Linked DNA regions of Homo sapiens: regions 2, 3 and 4 are each linked to region 1. Evidence: promoter capture Hi-C in 16 types of primary human blood cells and fetal thymus (Javierre and others, 2016). All regions are on one chromosome and are shown on one strand. The core of a region is centred on a gene start or on the middle of the fragment in contact, and the rest is flanking DNA. Distances in the headings are between cores, read along the strand shown. Region 1 holds the start of CWF19L1 (CWF19 like cell cycle control factor 1). Region 2 overlaps SEC31B (SEC31 homolog B, COPII component). Region 3 overlaps WNT8B (Wnt family member 8B). Region 4 has its middle 15 kb from the start of WNT8B.

Evidence for each region. The method cuts DNA at HindIII sites, captures the fragments that hold promoters and counts their contacts. A CHiCAGO score of 5 or more calls a contact.
Region 2: a fragment that was not itself captured here is called in contact with the fragment with the promoter of CWF19L1 in region 1 in 1 of 17 cell types (activated CD4 T cells); the score reaches 6.5 in activated CD4 T cells.
Region 3: a fragment that was not itself captured here is called in contact with the fragment with the promoter of CWF19L1 in region 1 in 3 of 17 cell types (total CD8 T cells, naive CD4 T cells and naive CD8 T cells); the score reaches 6.2 in total CD8 T cells.
Region 4: a fragment that was not itself captured here is called in contact with the fragment with the promoter of CWF19L1 in region 1 in 2 of 17 cell types (M2 macrophages and total B cells); the score reaches 5.3 in M2 macrophages.

The regions. Positions count from the first base shown.
Region 1 is chr10:100,265,259-100,270,439 of GRCh38, forward strand. It overlaps CWF19L1 (CWF19 like cell cycle control factor 1), which reads right to left and starts at 2,380. Exons shown (of 14, transcript NM_018294.6): 1 at 2,313-2,380. The coding sequence starts at 2,335. RefSeq lists an enhancer at 111-360. The HindIII fragment of the contact is 22,053 bases long and covers 1-5,181 here.
Region 2 is chr10:100,496,876-100,502,056 of GRCh38, forward strand. It overlaps SEC31B (SEC31 homolog B, COPII component), which reads right to left. Exons shown (of 26, transcript NM_015490.4): 12 at 2,649-2,723; 13 at 2,285-2,383; 14 at 1,830-1,929; 15 at 1,154-1,332; 16 at 792-918; 17 at 260-405. Among named protein-coding and RNA genes, the nearest start is that of SEC31B, 20 kb to the right of the region's middle. The HindIII fragment of the contact is 569 bases long and covers 2,114-2,682 here.
Region 3 is chr10:100,477,687-100,482,867 of GRCh38, forward strand. It overlaps WNT8B (Wnt family member 8B), which reads left to right. Exons shown (of 6, transcript NM_003393.4): 2 at 1,366-1,399; 3 at 2,188-2,326; 4 at 3,312-3,437; 5 at 4,226-4,368; 6 at 4,585-5,181. The coding sequence ends at 5,130. Among named protein-coding and RNA genes, the nearest start is that of WNT8B, 17 kb to the left of the region's middle. RefSeq lists an enhancer at 4,598-5,181. The HindIII fragment of the contact is 6,072 bases long and covers 1-5,181 here.
Region 4 is chr10:100,444,966-100,450,146 of GRCh38, forward strand. No RefSeq gene overlaps it. Among named protein-coding and RNA genes, the nearest start is that of WNT8B, 15 kb to the right of the region's middle. The HindIII fragment of the contact is 3,570 bases long and covers 690-4,259 here.

The sequences.
Region 1 (5,181 bases), core at 1,130-3,629:
AAGTGTAAAAAAACTTAAAGTTTATAAAGTAAAAGTTACAGTAAACTAAGGTTTACTGTTGAAAATAATATTTTAATAAATTTAATATAGGTGAAGTGTACAGTATTCATAAAGTCTACAATACTGTAAAGTAATACATTCACTCACCTCTTACTAACTCACTCAGAGAAACTTTCAGTTCTGCAAACTCCATTCATGATAAGTGTCCTACACAGGTTGTGCCCTTTTTTTTTTTCCTGTATACAGTATTTTCTTTTTTTCTTTTTCTTTTTTTTTTTTTTTGAGACAGTCTCGCTCTGTCGCCCAGGCTGGAGTGCAGTGGTGCGATCTCGGCTCACTGCAACCTCTGCCTCCCAGGCTCAAGCCATTCTCCTGCCTCAACCTCTTGAGTAGCTGGGATTACAGGCGCCCGCTACCACACCCGGCTAATTTTTGTATGTTTAGTAGACACAGGGTTTCACCATGTTGGCCAGGCTGGTCTTGAACTTCTGACCTCAGGTGATCCACCCACCTCGGCCTCCCAAAGTGTTGGGATTACAGGCATAAGCCACCACACCCGGCCAGGTGTTTTCACTGTACCCTTTCTATATTTAAATACAAAAATGCTTACCATTGTGTTACAATTGCCTACAGTATTCAGTACAGTAACTTGACGTACAGCTATACCATTTAGCCTAGGTGTACAGGAAGCCATACCATCTAGGTCTCTGGAAGTACACTCAAAGATGTTCGCACAATGACGAAATCGCCTACCAACTCATTTCTCAGAACATAACCCTGCTGTTAAGCAATGGATTACTCTTATTTCCCAAGGCTCAATCCTAACATTCTCGGGAAGCCTTCTTGACTCCTATCATTAAGCCAAATACCCCTCTTATGCACTCTCCCAGATTCACGAATATTTTCTTCCCAAAAGTTACCACTATTGCAATTTTTTTTTTTTTTTTTTTGAGACAGGGTTTCAATCTGTCACCCAGCCTGGAGATCAGCAGCACGATCACAGCTCACTGCAGCATCGACCTCCCCAGGCTCAGGTGGTCCACCTGCTTCAGCCTCCCAATTAGCTGGGACCACCACGCCCGGCTAATTTTTTTTTTTTTCTGTATTTTTTGTAGAAACGGGGCCTTGCTATATTGCCCAGGCTGGTCTTGAATTCCTGGACTCAAGTGATTCTCTTGCCTTGGCCTCCGGAGTCGCTGGGATTATAGGCGTGAGCCACTGCGCCTGGCCCTATCACTATGGTAACTTTACATTTATCTGAATTCCTTTTTTTTTAGACGGAGTCTCACTCTGTTACCTAGGCTGGAGTGCAGAGGTGCAGTGTCGGCTCACTGTGCAACCTCCGCCTCCGGGTTCAAGCGATTCTCCTGCCTCAGCCTCCCAAGTAGCTGGGATTACAGGCACGCGCCACCACGCCTGGCTAATTTTTTTTTTTTGTATTAGTAGAGACGGGGTGTCACCACGTTGGCCAGGCTGGTCTCGAACTCCTGACCGCAAGTGATCCGCCCGCCTCAGCCTCCCAAAGTGCTAGGATTACAGGCGTGAGCCACCGCGCCCGGCCATTATTTGTATTGTTTTTTGTTTGTTTTGTTTTGTTTTGTTTTGTTTTGAGAGTCTCGTTCTGTCGCCCAGGCTGGAGTGCAGTGGCGCGATCTCGGCTCACAGCAACCTCCGCCTCCCGGGTTCAAGCGATTCTCCTGCCTCAGCCACCGCGCCCGGCCCATTATCTGGATTCTTTAGTACCTGTTCCTCTAGACTCTACGCTCCATTAAAGCAGGAACTCCATCTGTTGCAACACCTAGCACAGCGTCCGGCACACTGCAGTTCTTCAATAAATACTTGCTGCATGAAGCCCTCTCTTCACCACCACCCCCACCCCTCCTCCTCGCAAAAAAAAAAAAAAAAAAAAAATGCCCCAGGGAAGGGTCCCTATCTACTCTGTCCACCACTGCCCAGGGCCCATCAGTGGGCCCAATGGCTATTTGGCGAGTAAATAAATGGGGTCAGGAGAAACGAAGGGGAAAGGATGTGTCAGAGGCCAGGACTGCCCCCTAAGATGGAGGAGGCCTAACTCTGGGAGCTTCCGCCTCTCCGAACGAGCGTCGCCAAGAGAAACCCCCTCAGAAGCGAAAAGGGCCAGGAAAAGAGGTCAGCCCCGGCCAGGCAAAGACATCACCTAAGCTCCCCAGCAGCCCCGTGTCTCTCCGCCTTTTCCTTCTCCCTTCCCGTCATGGGAAAGACTCCCGCCCGTGTCGTCACCTACACACACGAAAGAGACACAGGGAGAGAGGCTTCCATTCACGGTCACTCACAGGCGCAGCGGTTTCTGTGCCATCTGTCCGAATAGTATGGGTTGCGACTGCCACCTAAAATTGGGAATGCGAATCCGCGCTCCCCGGAAAAATGCGACCGCGCAACAATCAGACGTCAGCGCCCTCCAGCCAATAACGGTTCACTTACTTACGGAGACCGCCGAGGGACAGAAGCCTCTCTCAGGTGTTTGCGCCTCAAGGAAGAATCAAGAGGGAAAGGGAGGAACGAAGGGAGAAAGAGAAAGTGACCGAAAGGATTCCAACTATGATTTTTTAAATTAAATTTCAGAGCACTTGAAGCGAATGAATGGCTAGGAAGTACAGAGCACAATGTCGGGTTCTAACCTAACCTAACCTAACCTAACCTAACCTAACCATATCGGTCTAGTGGGCAAGACAGACCCCCTCTATCCACGTTTTTTGTAAGTTTTTAACCTATCAAAAAGTTAAGAGGCCGGGCGTGGACGCTCACGCCTATAATCCCAGCACTTTGGAAGGCTGAGGCGGGCGGATCACTTGAGGTCGGGCGTTCAAGACCAGCCTGGGCAACATGGTGAAACCCCGTCTCTTCTAAAAATACAAAAATTAGCCGGGCATGGTGGAGAATTGCTTCAACCAGGGAGGCGGGGGTTGCAGTGAGTCAAGATCGCGCCATTGCACTCCAGCCTGGACAACAAGAGCGAAACTCCGTCTCAAATTAAAAAAAAAAAAGTTAAAAGAATAATGGCTATTACCTTGATTCAGTAAGTCTCAGCATGTTGGCAAATTTGCTTGTGTTCTCTTTCTCTCAAAGTGCCCAAGCCCTTCCATTCTCACTCAATCATTTGAAAGTAAAGTACAGGCCGGGCGCAGTGGCTCACGCCTGTAATCCCAGCACTTTGGGAGATCCAGACCATCCTGGCTAACACGGTGAAACCCCCTCTCTACTAAAAATACAAAAAATTAGCCGGGCGTGGTGGCACGCACCTGCAGTCCCAGTTACTCGGGAGGCTGAGGCAGGGGAATCGCTTGAACCCAGGAGGAGGAAGTTGCAGTGAGCCGAGATCGCGCCACTTCACTCCAGCCTGGGCGACAGAGCGAGACTCCGTGTCAAAAAATAAAATAAAATAAAGTGCGGACAACAGGAATACATCTCCATTTATCTCCTAAGATTAGGATATCCTCCTACATAACCGTAATACTATTAACACAGCTAAGAAAATTAACATTAATTATTCAATAATATTACCTAATATACATCCATATTTAAAGTTCTCCATATTTCCCTACAAACTGATTTTATATTTGGGGCTTGTTTTGATTCAGATGCAATCAAGTTTCACACTTGCATTTGGTTCTGTCTCTATTTTAATCTACAAAAGCCCTCCTACCTATTTGGTTTTAGTTTTTGTAATATTGACTTTTTTGAAGGGTTCAGGCCAAGTGGTAGGAAACAAGTGTGTAAGGAAATGGAAACAAGAGAGAGTTCCTGACGACTGCGGGGAAAGGAAGACTCATCAAGGGCATCTAAATAATTCAAAATTAATAAAACATAAGATTAAAGAAGAACTACAGGCCAGGCACAGTGGCTCATGCCTGTAATCCCAGCACTTTGGGAGGCTGAGGCGGGAGGTTCACTTGAGAACAGGAGTTCAAGGCCAACCTGGGCAACATAGCCAGACCTCGTCTCTACTACAAATTTAAAAAGAAAAAAAAAAAAGTTAGCTGGGCATGGTGGCCGTATGCCTGTACTCCCAGGTACTCCAGAGGCTGAGGTGGGGAGATCACTTGAGCCCAGGAGATGGAGGCTTCAGCGAGCTATTACCTTGCCACTGCACTCCAGCCTGGGTGACACAGCAAGCCCTGTCTCAATAACCAAACAAAACTACAAAGTTCTGGCTTTTCCCACAGCCTACAAGCCTTCTTTTTTGTTTGTTTCTTGCCTCATAACTGGTGGCTCTGCTTTGCTGGCACATAAGCATGCATTTTTTCCTACTCTTTGGATAATACAGCACTGCCCAGGAGTAGCACTCAAGACTGAATCTTGAAGAAGAGTAGAAGTTTGCCAAACATGAGCAGGTAATAATTCCCAGAAGAGGATACAAAAGTAAGACATAAAAACTCATCGTATTGAAAAATCAAAAGACTCCACGAAAAAGACTGTTAGAAATAATAAACGAATTCAGTAAAAGTTTCAGGATACCAAATCAACATACAAAAATCAGTAGCATTTATATGCACCAACAGTAAACAATCTGAAAAAGAAATCAAAAAAGCAATCTCATTTACAACAGCTACAAAGAATATAAACTACGTAGGAATCAATTTAACTAAAGAAATGAAAGATCTATACAAGGAAAACTATACAATACTGATGAAAGAGGACACACACACAAAAAGGAAAGATATTCCACGCTTATGGATTAGAAGAATTAGGCGGGCAGATCACGAGGTCAGGAGATCGAGACCTTCCTGGCTAACACGGTGAAACCCCGTCTCTCCTAAAAATACAAAAAAATTAGCCAGGCGTGGTAGCGGGCGCCTGTAGTCCCAGGTACTCGGAAGGCTGAGGCAGCAGAATGGCATGAACCCGCGAGGCAGAGCTTGCAGTGAGCGGAGATCCAGCCACTGCACTCCAGCCTCTAGCCTGGGCAACAGAGCGAGACTCCGTCTCAAAAAAAAAAAAAAGAAAGAAAGAAAAAAGACAACACTACCTAAAGCAATTTACAGATTCAGTCCAATCCCCATCAAAATACAAATGGCATTCTCTAGATAGAGCAAGGATCCCCAACCCCCGGGCTATGGACCAGTACCCATCAGAAACCAGGACGCACAGCAGGAGGCGAGCGGTGGGCAAGTGAGAATAACCGCCTGAGCTCACTTCCTATCA
Region 2 (5,181 bases), core at 1,148-3,647, 230 kb after region 1:
ACTCAAGTACTGAATACATCTGTAAAACCAAACCTGAAATAGGAAAAAAATTATGAAGACTAACACTGAAGCAGCTGCTGCTTAGTCTTCTCTGAGGGAAGAGGAGAAGATCCCAGACATTCAGGACCTTTCGCTCCTCCCTAACACCGTGGTTCCAGCCTGTCCCAGAAGATTCGCCTCTGCTAGCTCTGCACATCTCCACCACTAGCCTCCTAAGGGCCTGGTGTGGAGTGGCCAGTACCCTGCAGAGAAGGGGTACCTGCAGAGCCATGGGGGACAAAGCCTGGTGGCATTTTGCCCAGCACTCCACCAGCCGCTCCACACTCCCTGAGCACACATAACAGAGTCTGGCTTCGGAGGTTAGTGCCCTGCTGCCCTCCTGTTCCATGCGAGTTCCCAGCATGTCTGCAGAGAGAGGGTAATTTCATTAATGGCACAGCTGCCCTGTGTGCCTCTCCTTCTCCTGTTTGGAAACAGGGAGAGGACCATGAGCCTGGGACAAGTAGCTGCAGTTTAAGACAACACTGAGACTCACCTTGCTGTACAGAGAAGGGGAAAGTTCTCACATCATGGTGTGACAAGACAAGGTAAAACAGGACAACAAAGGATCCCCTCTGAAAATAGGGGCATGCACTGTGGTCCCTGCCTCCTGGCTGAGCCAGATTCTAGCCCTGACAACATTGCCTCGCCTCCCACAGCTCAGTCTGCTCCTCCACCTCCCTCCTGCATGCATCCTTTGACTCCATGCTGGAGTCACACCATTTCATCCTGAAGCCTGGGACCACACTTACCACAGAGCTCGGGAAATTTCTCTGTGCCTGAGTATGTCAGTAGCAAAGCCAGTGCCTCTCTCCAGTTCTTCAGGCTACAGGTACACACCACATCCTTCCAATTCTTTTGCACAACACAGGCTAGAAGCTGTAATGGGCAGAGAGGGAAAGAGACCATCAGCCATCCATCCAGCATAGGCAGCAGGATTCCTGCACAGGCCTCCTGTTAGAGCACTGAGTAGGGGCAAGGGATGAGGTGGGGGTGGTTAGAGTAGAAAGAGAGAGGCAGGCAGATACTCAAACATGGGTCCCAAGGTGTGGGTATCCACCTCACAAGGTCCAAGTAATCCCCTCCCTTCTTCTCCTGCATGATGGGCAGTTACCGAGGAGATTTTGGTTTTCTTCTTGGCCAAGTAGCGCTCCTGTGTTTGCTTCAGCAGATCTGTACCCCCAGCCTGGGCCAGGATAATGGCATCAGCAAAGCGCTCCTCCTTCAGACACAGCTCCACGGCCGGACCCAGTTCCCCAAGCAGGAGAGCCTGGCTTAGGAGTCCATCAATATCTGCAGGCAGAAGCATCCCCTGTGCATTAGTTGCTCTCAAACCCCAACTTCCTGCCCCCTGCAGGGCCCACAGCACACCCTCTATATCTCTATATCACTCAGTGTGCTTGGCTCCAAACTAAATCCTCAAGTTTCACTCCTTGGCAATAAAATGTATTTTGGTGCCCAGGTCTAAAGACAGGGCCCAAGACAAGGGAGGGAACTGATGTGGCAGTAGCACAGTGTGAGGTGTGCTTGATCACAGTGGGCAGGGCCACAGTCCTTTCAGCAAGAAGGATAGAAGAAAATCTGTTGGTAGAAGGCCTTCCATAGGAAGGACGTATCCATGAAAATCTACAACCAGAGAGAGCTCTAACTGGTAAGCGACTCACTCAGCATTTGAGACGGTGGGAGGAAGGCACGAGGCAGGGGACAAGAAGGGAATGTCTCAAGTCCAAAACCTCCGTGCCCACCTAGTCCTAAGCAGAGACTCTCCCTCTCCCTCAGGGTCAGGGTACCTTTTGTGATGGGGATCTCCCAAGGAGTCATGTTCTGAGGGACCAGCTCATCAAAGAAGGCTGAGGAAGCAGAGGCTTCCTTTGTGGTGTGTTTGGAGGCCTGTATGAGGAAGGACAGAGGTGACTACTTAGGGATGAACCCAAGACAGACAGAGAGCTGGCTTAGTAGCCCTGAGAGCTCTACTATTTGGCCGTTAATGGGTAAAACTAAAAAAATAGCCAGGTAAGGTTTGGGGAGGGCCATAGTTCATGGTTAAGACACAGCTCTCCACTCCCAGCCCAAAAGCTTAGGGACTCTGTGTCTCACTCTGGTTCTAAGAGAGTGAGGAGTCTGAAGACTTCTACAGACGCTAAACACTTACAGACAGCAAAGAAAAGGGCCAGGAAGGGAAAGATGCCCAAAAGGCAGGTTTCCTGTGTTACCATAGGTCAGGCTGACTGGACTCCTACCACACCTGGCTGCAGAAGGCCTGTTGTCTGTCACTGTTGAGGTCATTTCCCTTGGGCTGAGGACTCTCACCTAGCCCCACGTCACTCTTCAACCATGTGGCCACCTGCAGGGAGAGACCTCTGAAAACCGCTCTTTCAAGCGTAAGATCAAATAAGCATTATCCTCTTTTCCTATCTCCATACCCCACCAACTGTACTCTCTAAGATCCCTGATCTATTTTTTTCTGAGAAAAAAACAAACTCCAGGATGTAAAATGCTCACATATGCAATAATAAGGCCAGGAAGAGGTATTCTGAGGTGGTTTACTCTGGCAACATTCTCTTCTTCTCTTCAACAAGTACATGTTTCTGATGTGAAAAGCAGCTTACCTTCTTCTGAAGCTCATCTTTACTGTATCCTAAAAGCTTTAGGAATTTCATTCTGGAGTCTTGCTCTAAGGTCACCTAAGAAACCACAGAACACAGAAAAGATTCCATTAAATGAACATAAATGACGCTCTTCCTACAACAAGCTGGGTATCTGTGCCAGTATACCCAATATAGTTCTTTGTACTACTAGAAGTGCCCTCAGCAGTCCAATGCCATCTCTTTTTCCTCCCTGGATCTGACTTACTGATGGGCTATCAGCAGTGTTAACATAGCCCCCTGCCCTTTGCACATGAGAATTTGACCTTTCATTGACTTCCTAGCTCTGTTACCCTGGTAGTCTGGTGAGAGTAAAATGTCAGCTGTTCCTAGGCAATATGCTTGTGATTGGTAACTTGCATCTGGACTGGAACTATGTAACCTAGAAATAATTAATGTGAACAACATGCTATGCATTTCCCTGTTTGCAGTGGCTCTTGTAACTGGACAGATTCCTTGCAGGGACTCCGGAAGCTATGCTTTTAGAATTGGTACAAGAGATATTGGCTCTTGTGGGCAAGAAGCTTCTAAGTCAGGGCAACTTACATACCTGCCTGATGTATAGTCTCATCTCCTTGCACCTGAGCTGTCTCTGGCGGGCTGAAGAAGAGAACTCTGAATTACTGCATGACTGCTGAAAGGGCTCCCACAGAAGACACCTGCCTGATGCTACCCTGCTGTGGTCCCTATCCCATATCCTTCCGAGGAGACTGCTGCCAAGTGTAGCCTACAGTAGTCTTGTGAGTCTAAATGTTTCTTTTCTTTTTTTTTTTTAGACAGACTCTTGCTGTCTCAACCAGGCTGGAGTACAGTGGCGCCATGTCGGCTCACTGCAACCTCCACCCTCAGGGTTCAAGTGATTCTCCTGTCTCAGCCTCCTAAGTAGCTGGAATTACAGGCGCCCTCAACCACGCCCGGCTAATTTTTTGTATTTTTAGTAGAGACAGGGTTTCACCATGTTGGCCAGGCTGGTCTCGAACTCCTGACCCCAGGTGATCCACCCACCTCAGCCTCCCAAATTGCTGGGATTACAGGCGTGAGCCACCGCACCCAGCCTTGTGAGTCTAAATGTTTCTTTGAGAAGACCTCTGGTAGAAGTTGCACAGGTACAGTAAACAAAGTCAGCTTCCCACTCAATGTCCCAAATACCAAGGAGCAAACCTTTCTGAAGCCCCCGTAATCTTGGTTAGCTGTCCCAGGCCCTTAATTTATTCCACACTGAAACATGATTTCTAACCATACCTTTCTCATAGTCTCTCTGGGCACCCTTCTCCTTCCATGCCCTTCCCTTGGAAATGTTCACCACACCCAACCAGGAACCATCATGATGGACAGCTCTTGGGTAGCTTTTAAACCAGAATGCCTGGCCAGGCGCGGTGGCTCACGCCTATAATGCCAGCACTTTGGGAGGCTGAGGTGGGTGGATCACCTGAGTTCAGGAGTTCGAGACTAGCCTGGCCAACATGGTGAAACCCTGTCTCTACTACAAAAAAAATACAAAAAATACAAAAAAAAAAAAACCCTGTCTCTAAAAAAAAATACAGGCGTGGTGGCAGGTGCCTGTAATCCCAGCTATTTAGGAGGCTGAGGCAGGAGAATTGCTTGAACCCGGGAGGCAGAAGTTGCAGTAAGCCAAGATCATGCCATTGTACTCCAGCCTGAGCGACAAGAGTGAAACTCTGTCTCAAAAAAACAAAAACAAAAAAACCCAGAATGCCCTGTCCTATAGGTCCCTCTGTCCTATAGGTACCACTGTCTCCTTTGTTTAGCGGAGTAAAGGCTGAACTCCTGACCACTCCCTCTCTTTACCATCTCACCATTCCTGGAACTTGTATCCTGCTTATGACAAAAGCATCATTTCTTATTCTTTTCTTCCCACATCATTCTCTGGCTTCACTGTATAGTCAAGATCTTTCTCAAATCCTCTTTCTCTAACTTCCTGATGTCCACCTTCATAAAGCTCTACTATGCCTAAAGCTCAAATTTCAAGTCCCTCTCAGATGCCCTGGTACAGGCCCAATCCTTTTTGCTTTCTTCTAAACAATTCCAAAAACTTGCACAATCATCCCACTGACTGACCAGTCAGCTACTTGCCTTTCTTCCTTCAGATCTCTCACTTGCTCATTTCCTTTGATAGGTATAGTACTCCTCCTGGTGTCACAGGAAACTTGAAATTAAATGAGAACTGGAACTGAACCCATGCCTCCAGTGTACAGTGGCACCTGAACCCTAGGACCCACTCCAAGGACTTGCCTTGGGTTACTTGAAACCAACTCAAAGCCTTCTTATGACAATATGTCCTTCTAACTAATGTTTTTCCTTTCTCCTCTTTTTCTCTTTCCTCCCTTTTTTCTTCCTTCCCATTACCTTATCTGCCCTTTGGCATGATACCGTGAAGGTCTTTGCCTTGGCCCTGGTAAAATACCTAGGACATCAACCATAGTAGCAACAAAAGAAAACATCTCGTGTATTCCCCATCTTTCCTAGCCTCTTCCCA
Region 3 (5,181 bases), core at 983-3,482, 210 kb after region 1:
AAATTTCTGAGTGAAAGTAAGTCTTTATTTCTCTGGGATAAATGCCCAAGAGTGCAATTGCTAAGTCATATGACAAGTTCATTTTTAGTTTTTTTTTGTTTTTTTTTTGGGACAGAATATCACTCTGTTGCTCAGGCTGGAGTGCAGTGGTGCAATCTCAGCTCATTGCAGCCTCTGCCTCCCAGGTTCAAGCGATTCTTGTGCCTCAGCCACCTGAGTAGCTGGCATTACAGGCGCATACCACCATGCCTAGCTATTTTTTTTTTTTTTTTTTAGTAGAGACGGGGTTTTGCCATGATGATGCCTAGGCTGGTCTTGAACTCCTGGATTCAGGTGATCCACCTGCCTCAGCCTCCCAAAGTGCTGGGATTATGGGCGTGAGCCACTGTGCCCAGCCCATTTTTAGTTTTAAAAGGGGCAGCCAAACCATTTTTCCAAATCGCATTACTTATTTTTAGAGTTTTATTATGACTCAATCCCTAGAGAGATATTCCACTGTTTGTTTACCTCTTCCTAATTAGAGAAGTATCCTTCTAACGTCCCACGGAGTCAGATGAATGTGGATTCAAATCCTGCTTCACTCACTTATTAGCTGGGTGAGCCTGAACACACGTTTAACTTTTCTGGAGTCTCAGATTTCCTGTCTGCAAAATAGAGATAATAATGCCTGAGACAGTAAGGATTTAACAAGATCAACATGTAAAATACCGAGAGTAGAGCATAAGGAACATAGTCAGGAGTTAATGCTAGTTCTCTCCCCCACTTCATGGCAGAATAATCAGCAACCATCACTATCAGGTATATGGTACTGGAAATTTTACCTGGCTTTAACAATGCAAGGAAATGATACTACTTTTATTCATGTTTTTTCTACTAAGTTTTATGTGTGTGTGTGTTTTTTTTTTTTTGTTTTGAAACAGAATTTTGCTCTGCCGCCCAGGCTGGAGTGCAGTGGCGCAATCTCGGCTCACTGCAACCTCCACCTCCCAGGTTCAAGTGATTCTCATGCCTCAGCCTCCTGAGTAGCTGGGACTACAGGCGCCTGCCACCATGCCCCGCTAATTTTTGTATTTTTAGCAGAGACGGGGTTTCACTATGTTTGGCCATGCTGGTCTCAAACTCCCGACCTCAAGTGATCCACCTGCTTCAGCCTCCCAAAGTGCTGGGAATACAGGCATGAGCCACCCCACCTGGCTGTAAATCATCTTTAGTAGGTTTGTTATGCACAGTGTTTCCTGGGTAAAACTAGTTTCCCTTTCTTCCTATTAATGACATGTGCTGAAGTAATTCTTACCACTCTTGGAAGCAGAAACAAGTTGGTGTCTCTGCATTATATTCTGTTTTTGTTTTTTTTTTCCCTTATAGGTCGGTGAACAATTTCCTGATGACTGGTCCAAAGGTAAGAACAAATTCCATTAATTGATATGGATTTCACTAATCTTAGCCTGTTGACTAAAGATGATAAATGCAGATTTTTCATTATATCCACATATTTTATTATGCTGTATACATTACAGATAGAAAGATTGAGACCCAGAGGGTGTTAGGGACACATCTAAAACCACATAGCAAACCACTGTCAGCGCCAAGATAAGAACGCAGGAGCACTGAATTTATGGCTAGAATTTCCAGAGCCATAAAAGTCAACAGCCTTTTATAGGTGTCAGGCTGCAAAGTCACACATCCTTCTCAGTGCCCCGTGGTGGGATGCAGTTTCCCATGTTTAAAATGCTGGAATTGTACTACATGATCTTTACATTCATGGGCATTTTCAGTTCCAAAATGTTGTTTTCTAAGATGGTCATGTGATGAGAACTCCTTAAATTTCATGAATTAGGTGATTTGGGCTCATTTTGGAGAGACAGGATAGTATAGTGAAGAAAGGTGAATAAAGGATAATAGGGACTAGAGTCTGATAAAACTGAGTTTCATTTCTAGTTCTGCCATTTGCTAGCTCTGGGACTTTGGGGAAATTACTTTAGCTCACTCCCTGGGCCTCAGTTTCCTAATCTATAATATAGTGCCTATTTCACAAGTTATTTGTGATGTCAAATGAGACAGCATATTTAAAGGCTTACTCCATTATTTTGGAGGGATGGGAGAGTGAGCAGGAAGAGGGCTGTTTGGTCAGTTTAGGGTAAATGCCTCCTAAGTTCAGTCTGAATTTTTACCCCTATGTCCCTACAGGCTTACCTGATTTACTCCAGCAGTGTGGCAGCTGGTGCCCAGAGTGGTATTGAAGAATGCAAGTATCAGTTTGCCTGGGACCGCTGGAACTGCCCTGAGAGAGCCCTGCAGCTGTCCAGCCATGGTGGGCTTCGCAGTGGTAAGAAAAACCTCAGCCACAGCTCCCTGGACCCTCTGGTCACAGGTTAGAGCCCCAGGGATAGCCCCTTGCCTCCTCGACACCCTTATTCCTCACCTGCTCTCTTCTCTTAGGTCATCTCCCTCTCCAGGATCTTCTCTTTTCCTTTTCTACTTCCTTTTTCCCACCTGTAGAGTTTTTTCTTTCTTTCTCAACACTCTCATTGCTCAACAAATGGATCTTGCCTTACTCCCAATCCCATACCATCCTTGGCCTCCCAGCTGGCTAAAGGTCTCCTCACAATGTAAGTAATATCAGGAGGTAGGCAGGGGTCATAATTCCTCAGACCTCTTAGCCCCTTCCTCAGCAGAGAGATACTGGGCAAGTGGAGAGTGACTTGGAGACCAGATTCCCATGGAGAAGATAAAGAGTGGCCATGCCAGTAAATGAAAGAGCTACCAATCAGAGGTTCTTTTCAAGACTAACTGCACATGACTCTTAGACCCTAAGTGTTCCAGGAGGAAGTGGGGATGGGTTCTTTACAACCTAGCCTTCAGATTCATCTCCCTCCCCATTTCTTCCTCAGGCTCTTTCCAGTCATGTGTGTCAACAGTACCCTAGCCACTTGGTCATAAAATGTGTGACCTGAAAAGACAGGAGGTGAGAAGAGCAGGGCTAAGGCCAGGGATGGGGCAGACCATGCAAGAGGGTAAGATACACTATAAAGATGGGAAGGCCAGGCACAGTGGCTCAAGCCTGTAATCCCAAGCTCTTTGGGAGGACGAGGTAGGAAGACTGAGCCCAGAGTTTGAGACAAGCCTAGGCAACATAGTGAGACCGACTCTCTGCAAAAAAATAAAAGTTAAAAAATAATAATAAAGATGGGGAAATAGGATGGAGCTAGGGAAAGAGGATATAATGATGGTTATTAAAGAAAGGTAGCATGTCTGGTATTTCTTTAAGCTGAAACCCCTCCCTCTAACTCTGGATTTTTGGTTCCTGCTAGCCAATCGGGAGACAGCATTTGTGCATGCCATCAGTTCTGCTGGAGTCATGTACACCCTGACTAGAAACTGCAGCCTTGGAGATTTTGATAACTGTGGCTGTGATGACTCCCGCAACGGGCAACTGGGTGAGTAGTAATGTAGGGATGGGTACCATAGGCCAGCCAACGCACATAAAGAATGAAAAGCCTGGTGGGGGTGAAGAAGAGCTGTATTCTTCTAAATATGAAGAAAATCATGCGGAAGATGGGTGAACGAGTTTGATCCCAAGCCCTACAATGACAAGCCAGGCTAAATGTAGCTTAGAACCTTCTTTTCCCATTGAGTAGTTTCCTTAATTTAAATATAAAAATAAAGAAACAACACTCTGGGGATTCCTCTGTTGCTTCTCTCAAACACAAGGGGAACTTCCTTCCGTGTTGCCTATCCCCGTCTACTTTCCACTCTTTACCTCCAGTGCTGTCTCCAATCTCCTGAGCCCTCCTGACCAATTTCCAACATCGTTGTTCCATATTTCAATTGTACCCCTCTTTCCCCCTCAATGCTCGAGCTTTCCTCATCTTTTTGGCACCATTTTGTCCCTTCTGGACCTCAATCACCAGCAGGGCACGTGCACCCTCTGCCCATGCGAAGAGGCACTGTTGGCAGAGGAGTGTACTGGCACCTTGCAAAGAATCCACTCGGCAACTACTTACGTCGTTGAGCCCTGAGCAGGGGATTGGCTGAACCTGGAAGTGGGCGTGTAAAAGTGGCAAAAACAAATCTAGACGGCAACTGATCTGGATACAGGGCACTCGCCCAACCTTAATCCTCTCCTATCCTGGACCCCCCCACCCCCAACCCAATTAGAAACAGCAGCCCAGGAGGCTCTGCGCCCGCTTGCTCAATGACCTGTCCTCCCTCTGCACTTTTCCAGGGGGACAAGGCTGGCTGTGGGGAGGCTGCAGTGACAATGTGGGCTTCGGAGAGGCGATTTCCAAGCAGTTTGTCGATGCCCTGGAAACAGGACAGGATGCACGGGCAGCCATGAACCTGCACAACAACGAGGCTGGCCGCAAGGTGAGTCCCGCAGCCCTTGGAAATAGGCAGCTGCTGGCTATATCCACTACCAGCTCCAGGTGCGGACAACTCTTCAGTTCATTTAAAAGATTGGCAAAATGAGGTACCAAGTGGGCTGGCCCAGTAGACTAACTAGACTTCTCGCAACTCCCACAGGGGCAGTTAAACTCGCCACGCGCTTAATCCGGGGCCTCTCACTCCTAGCTCTCTCCCCAGGCGGTGAAGGGCACCATGAAACGCACGTGCAAGTGCCACGGCGTGTCTGGCAGCTGCACCACGCAGACCTGTTGGCTGCAGCTGCCCGAGTTCCGCGAGGTGGGCGCGCACCTGAAGGAGAAGTACCACGCAGCACTCAAGGTGGACCTGCTGCAGGGTGCTGGCAACAGCGCGGCCGGCCGCGGCGCCATCGCCGACACCTTTCGCTCCATCTCTACCCGGGAGCTGGTGCACCTGGAGGACTCCCCGGACTACTGCCTGGAGAACAAAACGCTAGGGCTGCTGGGCACCGAAGGCCGAGAGTGCCTAAGGCGCGGGCGGGCCCTGGGTCGCTGGGAACGCCGCAGCTGCCGCCGGCTCTGCGGGGACTGCGGGCTGGCGGTGGAGGAGCGCCGGGCCGAGACCGTGTCCAGCTGCAACTGCAAGTTCCACTGGTGCTGCGCAGTCCGCTGCGAGCAGTGCCGCCGGAGGGTCACCAAGTACTTCTGTAGCCGCGCAGAGCGGCCGCGGGGGGGCGCTGCGCACAAACCCGGGAGAAAACCCTAAGGGTTTCCTCTGCCCCCTCCTTTTCCCACTGGTTCTTGGCTTCCTTTAGAG
Region 4 (5,181 bases), core at 1,225-3,724, 180 kb after region 1:
GGAATTGCTCAATACATTTATTTGAGTTACTACTATGAATTCCTTTTTTTTTTTTTTTTTTTTTTTGAGATGGAGTTTCACTCTTGTTGCCCAGGCTGGAGTGCAATGGCGCGATCTCGGCTCACTGCAACCTCCACCTCCCGGGTTCAAGCAATTCTCCTGCCTCAGCCTCCCAAGTATCTGGGATTACAGGCATGCACCACCACACCCACCTAATTTTGCATTTTTTTAGCAGAGATGGGGTATATTATAAACAACTATAAGCCAATGTATATGAAAACTTTCATCAAATGAACCATCTTCCAGGAAAAAATACAATTTACCAAGACTGACTCAAGAAGAAAGAAAAACCCTTAATAATCCTATAACAAGGCATTAAAGCAATAGCTAAAAATCAAGTCCAGGTGGTTTCACCAGTGAGTTCTCACATACATTCAAGGGCCAAATGATTCCAACTTGTGCAAATCAATTCAGAGTACAGAAAAGGATAAATCACTCCCAATTAATTTTGTGAAACTGGCAGAATTCTTATAAAACTTGACAAAAACTTTATGAATAAGGAAAATTATAGGTCATAGTCACTCAGTAATATAGATGCAAAATCCTAATAAAGTGTTAGAAAACTAAATTTAATAATGTTCAAAACTGACAATACTTTATGACCAAGTTGGGTTTATCTTAGGAATGCAAGCTTGGTTTAGCATTGGAAAATCCACCAACATAATTCAAAATATTTGCATATTAATGAAAGATAATATGTTTATTCACTACATGGATACAATGTATATGAAAAAATCCACCATCAATTCATTTTTTAAAAAATAATTAATTAATTAATTTTAATTTTTTCTTTTTTTTTTTTTTTTGAGATGAAGTGTCTCACTCAGTCACCAGGCTGGAGTGTAGTGGCACATTCTCAGCTCACTGCAACCTCCGCCTCCCGGGTTCAAGCGATTGTCTTGCCTCACCCTCCCGAGTAGCTGGGACTACAGGCATGCGCCATCATGCCCAGCTAATTTTTGTATTTTTTAGTAGAGACGGGGTTTCACCATGTTGCCCAGGATGGTCTCGATCTCCTGACCTCATGATCTGCCCACCTCGGCCTCCCAAAGTGCTGGGATTACAGGCGTAAGCCACCGCACCTGACCAATTTTAGTTTTTTCTAAAGAGAGGGTCTTACTTCATTGCCCAGGCTGGTCTCAAATTTCTGGCTTCAAGTGATCCTCCCACCTTGACCTCCCAAAGTGAATTCATTATTTTAAAAATCTTTAATGAAACTAGACATAGATGTGAACTTCCTCAATCTGATAAAGCCTCTACAAAGCTCTTTGTATTAGTTATCCATTGAAGCATAACAAATGACCCCGAAATTTGATAGCTTAACACACTGAAACACATTTATGATCTCACACAGTTTATATGGGTGAGAAATTCGGGCAGCTTAGCTGAGTGCTTCCAGTTTAGTATTTCCCATGATGTTGCAGTCCAGAACATTGGCCAGTACTGCAGTCATCTGAAGGTTTGACTGGGGCTGGAGGATCCTCTTTCTAGGTGGCTGACTCACAGAGCTGGCAAATTGATGTTGGTTGCCAGCAGGAGGCCTCCTTGCTGCAGTGACCCTTCCATAGAGCTGCTTGAGTGTCCTTCCAACACAGCAGCTGGCTTTCCCCCAGAGCAGGCAGACCGAGAGAGCAAGATGGAAACAATATCTTTTATAGTCTAGCCTCAGAAGTCACACGTGACCATTTCTGCAATATCCTATTACACAGGTCAGCCCTCTTCAGATATGGGATGTGAATATCATTAGGCAAAGATCATTTGGAGCCATATAGAGACTGGCTATCACAATTTCATGTCATATATCTTCTTTCATGGTGAAACACTGAAATTATTCCATTTCATTAACAAGACAAAAGTTGCCACTATCATTTCTATTCTATTGAACTAGAGGTCTTAGTTGACACAGTAAAATTGAACAAGAAATAAAAGGAAGAAACAGTCACTATTTTCAGATCACATATGTCAATATAAAAAAATGCAAAAGAATATCCCACAAAGTGTTAGAATTAAAGTGAGTAATGTTTCTGAATACAAAGTGAATATTAAAAAATAAATTGTGCCAGCAACAATTGGAAAGTACAATTTCAGGACCAGGCTCATCACCCTCCCACCTTCTGGAGTCTTCAGTGTCTATTATTCCACTCTGTGTGTCTATGTGCACTCATTGTTAGCTCTCATGAATAAGTGAAAACATACTGTTTTCTGCTTTCTGCTTCTGAGTCATTTCAATAAGGATAATGGCCTCCAAAACATCGTATTTAACGATGAAATATTAGAAGCATTTCCACCAAAATAGGATAAGATCAGGAGGCCCATTACCGTCACCAATATTACATTCAAGTTTAGTCAATGCAACAAAAGAAGAAAAAGAATAGAGAAATATAAATATTGAAAAGGAAAGGCAATTTGGTAATATCTATTAACACTTTAAGTATATATATTCACAAGTTTTAGGTGGCCAAGTGAACACATACAGTTTTTCCCTCTCACTACAGGAACCCCACCCTATTATAATGATGACAAATAACATAGAAATAAATAAAACTTAGAGTGGTGAAAAAAATGAAGGGGCCCATCAGCAAATGAAGATTTCAACCAACTTTTTGAAGTTAGAGATAAGGAAAGGGTAATGAAGCCAAGAAGAAGCAGCTACTGCCTAGGGTTTTTGTGGAGGGGGTGGCAGCCAAGGACACTGGGTAGTCCCCAGGATCCAGGAGGAGCTTTTAGCTGGAGCCCCACATACAACAGAGGGAGCAAATGAGATGTGGGAGTTACTGATTAAAAGTCTGTACATAGAACAGCTGGCCCATCAATTTCGCTCTCCCTTCATCAGCCAAGCACCTGCCCCTCCAGTAAATAATTGATGAGTTCTCCTCAAAATAACTCAAATGGCTCAATAAGAAAGGGCTCAATACCCAGAATGCAGGCTCTGGCATCACAGAACTTTCTTTCATCTGTTGAATGGGATTTGACCACCCAGATAAAAAGTTCCAAAGTGATAAAATCTGAGATTATACAACATCTGAATGTGAGTAAAAGGTTTGCTGCAGGGTTTGGGGGTGTATTTTGGTTGTTGTTATTGTTGTTGTTTTGAGATAGGGTCTCACCCTGTCTCCCAGGCTGCAGTACAGTGGTATAATCTTGGCTCACTGCAGCCTTGACTTCCCAGGCTCCAGTGAACCTCCCACCTCAGCCTCCCAAGTAGTTGGGACTACATGCGCGAGTCACCATGCCAGACTAACTTTTGTATTTTTGGTAGACAGAGAGTTTTGCCATATTGATTAGGCTGGTCTCAAACTCCTGAGCTCAAGTTTTCCACCCGCCTTGGCCTCCCAGTGCTGGGATTACAGGTGTAAGCCACTATGACCGGCCCGTTGGAGTTTTTAGAGTGAAATATTTAAAGGTATATGTCCTATATGTTATGGATTGAGTTGTGTCCTCCTAAAAGATATATTGCAGCCCTAAGCTCCAGTACCTCAGCATGTGACTTTATTTGGAAATAGAGTTGTTGTGGCAGATGTAATTAGTCAATTTAACATGAGGTCATGCTGGAGTAGTGTGGGCTCTTAATCCAACACAAATGGTGTCCTTCTAAGAAGAAAAGAGGCCGGGGCAGTGGCTCACACCTGTAATCCCAATACTTTGGGAGGCCAAGATGGGAGGATCGCTTGAGGCCAGGAGTTTGAGACCAACCTGGGCAACATAGTGAGACCTTGTCTCTAAAAACATATAAGAATTAGCCAGGTGTGGTGGCGTGCACCTGTAGTCCTAGCTACTCAGGAGGCTGTGGCAGGAGGATCACTTGTTCCCAGGAGTTCAGGGCTGCAGTGAGCCATGACTGCACCACTGCACTCCAGCCTAGGGGACAAGCGAGACTCTGTCTCTAAAAATAAATAAATAAAAATTTTAAAAATGAAGAAGAAGAAGAAGGAAGAGAAGAAGAAGGAGAAGAAAGAAGAAGAAGGAGGAGGAGGAGGAGAGAAAGAAGGAGGGAACACCGTGTGATGACAGAGGCTGAGAATAGAGTGATGTGTCCACAAGCCAAGAAATGCCAAGGATCGCCAGCAACACCAGAAGCAAAGAGTAAGGCTTGGAACAGATTCTTTCTCTGAGCCCCCAAAGAGGAACCAATCCTGCTGACACCTTAATTTTAAACTTCTGCTCTCTAAACTGTGAGAGAATACATTTTGGTTGTTTTAAGCTTCCCATTTTGCAGTGCTTTGTAATACAGCGGCAGCCCTAGGAAACGAATACATCTTCCACATTAGTTTTCTATATCAAGTTGTTTTTTCTCAAGATTGTATTTCTTCCAATCTTGGCATCCTTGAAAAGCCAGTGGAAATGGACTAGCAAAGTAAAAAGGAATGGGTTAACCAGAATCCCTCAGTCACCGATTACTTCCTGCCTAGACTTTATTTTTATTTATTTATTTATTTTTGAGGTAGAGTCTCACTCCATCACCCAGGCTGGAGTGCAGTGGCACAATCTTGGCTCACTGCAAACTCTGCCTTTCGGGCTTAAGCAATTCTCATGCCTCAGCCTCCCAAGTAGCTGGGATTACAGGAGTTACAGGAGTGAGCCACCACGTCTGGCTAATTTTTGTATTTTTTTAGTCGAGATGGGGTTTCACCTTGTTGGCCAGGCTGGTCTCGAACTCCTGACCTCAGGTGATCCACCCACCTCGGCCTCCCAAAGTGCTGGGATTACAGACGTGAGCCACTGCGCCTGGCCCCTGCCTAGACTTTCCTTACACAAAAGATAATTCTGAGTAGAGGTCAGTTACCATGAAAGAGGATCATTGCCACAAGTTATATTATTCAACATTAAACTGCCTCAGCCAGGTGTCACTTATTGAAGTTGATGCAGTCCTTTTTGGTTGTGCAAAGACACACTCGGCTTCTATCTACTACTCTAGGGCTTCTAGATTCTCTAAATCTTTTTCTCCTTGTCATCTATTTTAGAGCTCATTTTGCTATCTCGTGTTTCTCCTTTCTGCTCTCACTATTCTTCTTTTGAAAAAAAATACATGGAATATTCAGGAAACAGGAGAAGCCCAACTTGACAGAGACACTATTTTCCTCTCTGTCATTCTCTCTCTCATCCAAATTTCCAGGGAAGGAA